Regions from separate parts of the Homo sapiens genome. Here all the other regions are linked to region 1. The links are contacts of gene promoters, found by promoter capture Hi-C in blood cells and fetal thymus (Javierre and others, 2016). All regions are on one chromosome and are shown on one strand. Each heading gives the region's core, a stretch centred on a gene start or on the middle of the fragment in contact. The rest is flanking DNA. Distances are from core to core; before and after follow the strand shown. Region 1 holds the start of HAUS7 (HAUS augmin like complex subunit 7). Region 2 has its middle 18 kb from the start of PNMA3. Region 3 overlaps ZNF185 (zinc finger protein 185 with LIM domain).

Region 1 (2,997 bases), core at 100-2,599:
ATATACAGACCCTCGAGGAAGGGGCAGTTTAGGTCCTAAGCAAGGAAAAGGAAAGCAACATTCACTGAAAGTCCCAGTGTACATCATTTCATTTTATTTATTTATTTATTTTTGAGACGGAGTCTCACTCTGTCGCCCAGCCTGGATGGAGTGCAGTGGCATGATCTCGGCTCACTGCAGCCTCCACCTCCTGGGTTCCAGCAATTCTCCTGCCTCAGCTCCCAGGGTAGCTGGGGGATTACAGGCATGCGCCACCACGCCCGGACAATTTTTGTATTTTTAATAGAGACGGAGTTTCACCATGTTGGCCAGGCTGGTGTCAAACTCCTGACCTCAGGTATCTGCCCACCTCAGCCTCCCAAAGTGGTGGGATTACAGGCGTGGGCCGCCGCGCCCAGTCCTCAGTGTACATCTGCAAGCTCCCAGGACCCTTTCCTTTACCCGCGTCCTGCCATCTTGCCAAGAGTTCAAGTCCCCCCATTCTTAACCCCACATCTCCCGCGGCATGCAGACCCCACCTCTTTCAAGTACTCCCACTCTGGGCTCTTGTGGCAGCAGGACCTAGGAGCAACGCCTGAGACTAAGACTTAAGAGAGAGTCCTAGGTTTCGGGACTGAGGGAAAGGGGAGAGGGAAAGGGAGAGGGACCACTGAGCCAGTCGCGGACAGGATGGGGGAGTGTCTGGGGGGAGGAGCGAGCGGGCCGAGGGGACCTGGGACAGCTCCCTAACCTCGTGGGCCAGCTTTCCTCACTGCTGCAGTGAGGGCTCTGTCCTGTGGGGCTGTAGAGGGCTTCTGGAGGCTATCACCCCTGGCATCTGACACCAACTGACACCAAGCCCTAGTCTCGCTGACTTGACAGAGTGGCACGAGGCTCTGCCCATCTGTCCCCCCAGACCCCGCAAGATCCCTAAGGCCAGGCCTGGGTCCTCTGTGTCTGCACTTGCTCCGAGCGCCCAGCGCGGGTACTGCAGTTCCACAGGCGGTGCTGGCCCCAACTACCAGGCACGGGCCGTGGAGACAGCAAGAACGAAGGCCTGGGGCACACCAAAGGGCAAAGATGAATGATCCACAAGCACCCCCTGCTGCAAGGGAACAGGGCGCAGCCGGAACCGGCGACGGTGGCCGCGTGGCGCCGCGGACTTCCGCAGCAAGCCCTCCCGGGCCTCGGGCGGGGCCCTCCCCGGTCCCCCGCCCTGGAGTGGCTTTCTGGGCCAACAGCACCTTCAGCTTCCCGAACACCTCCACAGCCGCCCTGGACACGCTGCTGTCGCCCTCGTCCTCTGAGTAGTCGTCGCCGCCACGGCCGCAGCCAGCGTCCTGCCCCGCCATGTTTCGCGCTCCGAGCCGCGCCCCGCCCATGCCCTGGCTTCACTGGCCGGCAAGACCGCCAATCAACCTCCAGCGTTCTTCCCGCCCACCCGCCTGCGCCCACCCCCTTCCCGACCGACCCTTCCCATTGGGCGACATCTCCGCCTGCGCGGGCCCCGGGCTCCCACCCCCCGCCCCGGCACCACCCAGAGGCAGGACCACAGTGAAGCGGGCAGGGCGGACACAGGGAAGGGGGCGGGGCGGACACAGGGAAGGGGGCGGGGCGGACACCGGGAAGGAGGCGGGGCGGACACCGGGAAAGGGGCGGGGCGGACACCGGGAAGGGGCGGGGCGAACGGGCCAAGCTGGCTCTGAGTCGCAGGCCTTGCTGGCGTCGCCCCTGCTGCCGGCCGGGAATGATGATGCGTTGAAGCGAGGCTCTTCCAGGAGGGGGCGCTCCTGCCTTGGTCGGGTTCTCCTGGGCCACCACCACTAAGGGGCACCCTGGTTCCCAGGAGGACCAAGGGGAGCCTTGGGTGCAGAATGGAACTCGGACTGAAGCGTTCCTCTCCCAGCGCGGGGCTCCGTCTTCTCTTCACCATGCTCACGCTGTAGTTAGAAGGAAATTTCTTGTCACTCACCAGCTGTGTGCCTTTGAACCAGTTACCTAACCTCTCTGTGCCTCTTTGCCCTCACCTAATGGAGCTAATGAGAGCACCTTACCCACTGGGTTGCTAATGAGGATGGCAGGCGGTAATAATTCCTGTGGAATCCCTAGAACAGTGCCCGGCGCATGCGAAGAACCACGTAAATGCTCACTATTGTAATACATGCTGGGCCCTGCTCCCCTCACGGCTCCTGGGGCTACCTGTGGCTCCTTCCTATCCTGTCTACTTAACAAATTTTTCTACATCCCTCAGGACCCTCAAACTCAATGCGTCTGCAATGAAATATGTCAGTCGCTCCTCCCCCAGACCTGCAAAGCCCCCAGTTCACTGAATGCCCCTTACCCAGGGACCTGCTGATTGGGCAAGGCAGGAAGGAGTTGGAGGGTGGCTTGTGCCCAGTAGCCAGGAGACAGCAGCAGGCAGCTGCCACTGTGCCCTCCTCTGTGCCCTACCCTGCCATCTCCTGGAGGGTGGGATCAGGGGGCAAGTCTATAGTCAGGGAGACCCAGGGACCTGCTGGGAGGCAACTGCAGTCATCCAAGTGACAGGAGGGGACTTCACTCCGTCCTGGGAGGAGGGAGCGGGCAGGAGTCCGGGGGTCACAGGAAGGGACCTCAGCCTGGGAGGCCCCGACACAGGCCCAGCGAAGTGCCTCAAGGTTGCTCTCTACCCTTCCACGTGGCTGCTGCCTCAGGCCCTTCTGGTAGCTGAGGGCTGTCAAAGGCTTTGGGATTTTTTTTTAAGCGTTTTTTTCCCTCTTTTTTGTTTTTGTTTTTCTTTCTTTCTTTTTAGAAAATTTCATCTCAATCACAGCCCCAGCTCAGACATTCAAATTCTTGTGGGTTTTTCTGTGGATCTTTCCTAGGACTGGGGAATTTGGCGGAAGAAACCACGGCAGTGTGGCAGCCTCCCCCAACCCTCCCCATATTCTCTGCTCCTGAGGACCGGGAAGAAACCAGCTCCTGTGTACTCTGGAAGAAAATCTCCCTCCTCCACCCAGCTCCACGGAGCCAGTGTGC
Region 2 (2,700 bases), core at 190-2,689, 430 kb before region 1:
AGATCTTCCTGATGGGTGGAGCTTTAAGGTGTGCACCTTATCATCCACTTTGTGTGGAAGAAGTGGCCCAGGGTAGGAATATGCACAGATTTCTGAGCAGTGGCCAATGGACTAGCCAAAGGTCTAAAAAGGAAAGGACTGGAAAACTGGAGACAAGGAAGTCTGGGGTAGAGGCATATGGATAAACATGGGAGTGAGCATGAAGGAAAAGCTTACGTCACATACAAGTGCCCACCAGAAAGCATCAACAGTAGAAGAGGAGCTGAACTGTCAAGTGCACAAAATGACTCAGCAAGTTGGATATTAGCCACCCTTCACCATCAGCCAGTCCAGAACTGACACAATGGGCACATAAACAGATGGGCCACAGTGTGAGAGATGGAGACTGCTCACGGGCCCAGAAGCATGGAATCCTACTTAACAAGGCCTTTATTGCTGCTACTAGCTCTGAAGGTCCAGTCTTCCAGTGAAAGAGACCAATGCTGAGACCCCAATATGGCACCATTTCTCCATGTTGGGTCCATTATCTCTTAGAAGAGACATCCATTCTTTCTTACAAGGACAGAAACCTATTCTGAGTATGGGTTTTCCTTTCCTCCTGGCAGAACTTCAGCTAACATCACTATCCAGGGGCTTTCAGAGTGCATGACCTGCAGACCTGGAATCCCACACAAGAAGGTATCCTACCAAGGGACACACTTCAGAGTGAAGGAGGTATGTGCATGAGCCCATGAGCATGGGATAGTCTGGTGTCACACTGTGCCACCCAGAAGCTACTAGCTTGATAGAGTGTTGGAATGGCCTTCTGGAGGTGTAGCTGGAGCACAGGCTTAGAGGCAATACCCTACAAGGATGAGGCGCCATCCTCCAGGATGCAGTATATGCACTGTGTCAGAGATGTCCATGTGGCACTGTGTCCCCAGTAGGAAGAATACATGGGTCTGGAAGCCATAGGGTGGAGGCCAAAGTGGCCTCACTTTCCATCTTTCCCAGTGACCTACTCAGGGGCCAACATTGTGCTTCCCATCTCCTTAAATCTAGGCTCTGCAGGGTAGAGGTTCTGGTTCTTTGCACTCTTATCAGGACATACAGCCTGGGTTCCAGTTGTACTTATAGCCACCACTGCTGCCTGGCATTTTGGGGTTCCTTGATTCCAGACACCAGCAAGCAGGAAGAATCATCATGGTGGTGGGAGTAATAGAGAATTATCAAGGAAGAGGTAAGACTGCTGTTATATAATAGAGGCAGAGAGGAATATGCTCGGGACTCAGATGATCTTTTCTAGTGACTTTTGGTACTCTTTTGCCTCATTGGCTGTAAGTGATCAAGTACAGTGTGAGTGGCCTAAGAAGGGTATGGATACGAGGGACTCAGACCACTCAGGGATGAAGGAAGCTGCCAAAACTGCAGAGGTTATAGTTGAGGGTGAGGGAAATCTAGAATGGATAGTGGAAGAGGGTAATCATAAATACCTGTTGCAGTTGCAGGACCAACTGCACTGATGGGGCTTGTACTTTGTCCCGCCAACTTCTCTCTTCTTCTTTTTCTTTTTTTTTTTTTTTTTTGAGACAGAGTCTCACTCTGTCACCCAGGCTGGAGTGCAGTGGTGCGATCTCTGCTCACTGCAAGCTCTGCCTCTCAGGTTCACACCATTCTCCTGCCTCAGCCTCCCGAGTAGCTGGGACTACAGGCCTGCCACCATGCCTGGCTAAATTTTTTTTTTTTTTTTGTATTTTTAGTAGGGACGGGATTTCACCGTGTTAGCCAGGATGGTCTTGATCTCCTGACCTCGTGATCTGCCCACCTCGGCCTCCCAAAGTGCTGGGATTACAGGCATGAGCCACCGCACCCGACTGCCAACTTCTAAGTTTACCTTCAGAAAGAGTGGCCCACAGGAGCCAAGGAGGAACTGCTTCCCGAGCAGCTATGGAGTAGTGGATCTGTGTGGCACAAAGGATGGCCTGTGGCAGCTATGGAAGTGCACTGCTTGGATGTCACTTTAAGAGAGGGCCTGTTATGAGGAGTGCAATTAGTTGACAGCATTCAGGTGGAATGTCTTCAGGGTCCAAGGCAGCATTTGAGGTGAGACCATGCTAGTTCCAGGCAGCTCCCTATCAGAGGCTTAGCACAGCAGGGTACTAGGGTCATTTTTGCTCAGTGTGGGACTCCTCTATGGGCCATCTTTGCATCAGAGCTCCCCGTTGGGCTGGCCAAGACTTTTTGAAAGCTGCACCACTGTCTGAGACTCTTCCTTCCAATCCTTCCTTCTCCCTCTCTTTCCACTTGTGTTAGACCCGCCCTGTGGTCTGAAGGTTCTTCCTGCCTCTTTCTGTGTCCTCTCCCCTTTATCTTCTGTGATAATTTTTTTGCACTTCTAACTCCATCTTGACTTCCTGGAGGACCTGAACTGATGCATTTGATTTGGTTTTAGAGACAGCGCCTCCTTATCCTCCCTCCTGGGGAGGGTAGGAGAAAAGCCAAAGCACTCTTTGCTCCTAAAAATTTCCTTTAAAAATAACCTCTGACATGTTTAATCTCTTCAATAGCCTCGATGGAATGGTGTTTGCTGAATGGGCTTTGCCATCATTTAGTAAACTCAGGGAGTTTGTTGAAGGAATTTGAGGGCTGATCAAGGAAAAAGATATGACTGCAAGGGGCAGTAACACAACAAGCTTTATTCGGTGGCACTTGGACAGGGTT
Region 3 (2,726 bases), core at 101-2,600, 510 kb before region 1:
TTCCCAAAGTGGCCATGAGTTTGGGAATAACCAGGAGCCATGGGCCGCCGGCTAGAGATGCTGCATACTAAGAGCCTCCTGTGAGCAGCCATGTACACAGTGAACACGATGGCTAAGGCCCCATCCAGCCGCCCTCAAAGAGCACATAGTCCACTAAGGAATAAGCATGATCGTAATAACCATTAGCACCTGCTGTGTGCTGAGAATGTGCAGGCACTGTTCTGCATGCCTTATGTGGACTCACTCATTTAATTCTCACACCAACTCAAGGAGGTGCTTTTATTATGGAGAAACTGAGGCAGATGGAGGTTAAGTAATTTGCTGGCAGTTTTGCAGCCAGGAAGTGGCCTAACCGAGATTAGAATCCAGACAGAGATCAGAGCCTGTACTGTTCATCGCTGTGGCATCCATACTGCCCCTCCATTTGTGATAAGCCCAGGAAGGAAAGAAACCAGGTGCTCTGATGGAGAGGGGTTAGAGCAAGGATGGTTAGGGAAAGCTTTTCTATCGAGGAGGAGACAGTTCGGCTGAGACCTGAAACATCTGGAGGAGCCTGCCTTCCAAAGAACCTGGGGAGAGGCATTGTGGACAAAGAAGATAGGGAGGAGGGCCTGAACAATGAGCCCTGTGCTTGGAGGGTACGGGGTGAGGTGAGCAGGGGGCAGGAGCTGGGCCCTGTAGGGTCTTGTAGGTGAGGGAGAGGAGGCTATTGGGAGGGCTCCTATTGCTCACATTGCAGTCCTGGGGGGATGCCCAGGGCATTTTTTCTTTTTTTTAAGAGGCGGTGTTTCACTGTGTTACCCAGGTTGTTTTTGAATTCCTGGCCTCAAGTGATCTTCCTGCCTCAGCTTCCCAAGTAGCTCCAGGGAATTTCTGTTTTACCTTGCCTCTTCAGTTGCGCCGTCCCCTTCAGTATTCTGCTGACATGGATCACAGGATACCAGACACCTGGTAGTTGTTCAGTCAGTAGGAGGTCTTCCTTCCTTCCTCTTAGAATCAATCCTTTTCTCACTTGTTGGCTCTGCATTTTATCCCCCGTGTATCTTTTCAGATTTTTGTGGGGCCTCCTCTCCCATCCAGTCCACCTTCTCCAGTCTCTATGGTATATTTCTTTGTCATAGGGTGAAGCAGGAACAGGTACAGGATGATTGGGTACACTGAGGTGAGGTAGGAGGGCAGGCCCTCAGGAAGGGCTTCCCAGAGGAGGTGATATTGTCTGCAAAGGCATATGAGAGCCTGGAAGTCCAGGGGAACTGCAGGCTGGTCTGTACGGCTTGAGTGGCACGTGATACAGTTTGAGACTATGAGGCGAGAGAGCTAGGCAGATGCTAGACCATGATTGTTCTTCCCTTTCCCCACTCTTCAACTAGTTGTAATCTTAGGCATTGGATTCTCTGGCAAGGGGACAATACCCAGTAGCCTGGGCCAGATGGAGGCAGCCATATCTGGAGTATGATCTGAGCCACAGCATGTTGGAGAAAAGCCAGAATCAGCCCAGGGCAGTGTGCACCCATAGTGCTGGCCTCAGGCCTTTGGAGGGTGAGCAGACTTAAGTTGGAAGGTGCAAACAAGTGGTCAGTGGTGCTGCCCAACATCGTGCCCTGAACTGCAGTTGACAGCTACGGCAGCTTTGGTAATGAGGCTCATAGCCTGGGGGCAGGCAGAGTGAGAGCCGATATTGGCTTGGCCAGAGAAAAGCCCTTTTGGGCTGCCGAGGAGGTTGGATTCCAGGCCAAGGGCCATATCTGGCAGCTGAAGTGTGGAGGTTCAGAAAAACTTCGACACCGGTCAGTTTCCCGCCTCTGCTGGGAATGAGGTGCATCTGACTTTCCTCCTCAATGATGCCTAATTTCATTTGGTCCTCTGCCCCTTGGCCTTGTGTTCTCTAGAGAGTTCCCTGCAGGGTGGCAGAAGGAGCTGATCCTAGTAAGGGACCGTCCCATCCAGTGAGGAGGTGAGCTGGGCTGTGTCTTCCCCTTCTGCACCCTCCTGACTGTCACATCCCCGGGAGCCCCATGATTCCACTCTAACTGAGTGAATCACAGAGGCCAAGGCCCTTGGCTGCAGTCAGGAGTACTGAGTGGACACTGGAAGATTGGGGTCTTGCTACTGACTCACGATGTGACCTGGGACATGTCTCAACTCACCTAGCCTGGGTTTGCTTATCTGTAAAGTGAGAAGTTCCATTTGTTGGTCTTGGAGGAAGCTTCAAGAGCAGTGCTCAAGGGTTAGGCTCAGAAAAGCCTGTTTGACCCTGGAAGGTGTCAGCTCCCAGGTTGACGTGCCCACCCCTCCCTTTATTTCTTTCAGGGTGAGGAGCCCCTCGAGCTGCATGGTCACTGTTACTGTCACTGCCACATCTGAGCAGCCTCACATTTATATTCCAGCCCCCGCAAGTGAATTGGACTCCAGCTCTACCACGTAAGAAGGGCTATCTAGCAACCTGGGAGATGTTCCTCCGCCACTTCCTCCTTGGCGGTAAAGGACTTGGCTTTTGTTCCATGTTGCTTCCCATTTAGTGCCTTCCCCAGTTTCTAGCAGGCCATTAGCCAAGGGGCCACACAGGACAGTGTTAGTCCCCTAATATAAACTCCCATCTACCGGGCCTAGACATTCCCACACCTCCTTTTTCCTATCTCTGTAAGAGGCTGCAGTGGTACTTCCTAGTGCACTAGTGGATGTGGCTCTGCCATTCATGGGTCCATGCCTGGGAAGCCAGCTCCAGT

What was found. The method cuts DNA at HindIII sites, captures the fragments that hold promoters and counts their contacts. A CHiCAGO score of 5 or more calls a contact.
Region 2: a fragment that was not itself captured here is called in contact with the fragment with the promoter of HAUS7 in region 1 in 5 of 17 cell types (M1 macrophages, endothelial precursors, M2 macrophages and 2 more); the score reaches 7.6 in M1 macrophages.
Region 3: a fragment that was not itself captured here is called in contact with the fragment with the promoter of HAUS7 in region 1 in 4 of 17 cell types (non-activated CD4 T cells, monocytes, naive CD4 T cells and 1 more); the score reaches 7.0 in non-activated CD4 T cells.

The regions. Positions count from the first base shown.
Region 1 is chrX:153,469,227-153,472,223 of GRCh38, forward strand. It overlaps HAUS7 (HAUS augmin like complex subunit 7), which reads right to left and starts at 1,350. Exons shown (of 10, transcript NM_001385482.1): 1 at 1,224-1,350; 2 at 1-35. The coding sequence starts at 1,331. RefSeq lists enhancers at 642-821, 972-1,071, 1,585-1,879 and a silencer at 1,402-1,711. The HindIII fragment of the contact is 16,714 bases long and covers 1-2,997 here.
Region 2 is chrX:153,037,068-153,039,767 of GRCh38, forward strand. No RefSeq gene overlaps it. Among named protein-coding and RNA genes, the nearest start is that of PNMA3, 18 kb to the right of the region's middle. The HindIII fragment of the contact is 2,461 bases long and covers 210-2,670 here.
Region 3 is chrX:152,961,529-152,964,254 of GRCh38, forward strand. It overlaps ZNF185 (zinc finger protein 185 with LIM domain), which reads left to right. Exons shown (of 25, transcript NM_001395254.1): 20 at 2,311-2,421. Among named protein-coding and RNA genes, the nearest start is that of PNMA5, 31 kb to the right of the region's middle. The HindIII fragment of the contact is 1,707 bases long and covers 498-2,204 here.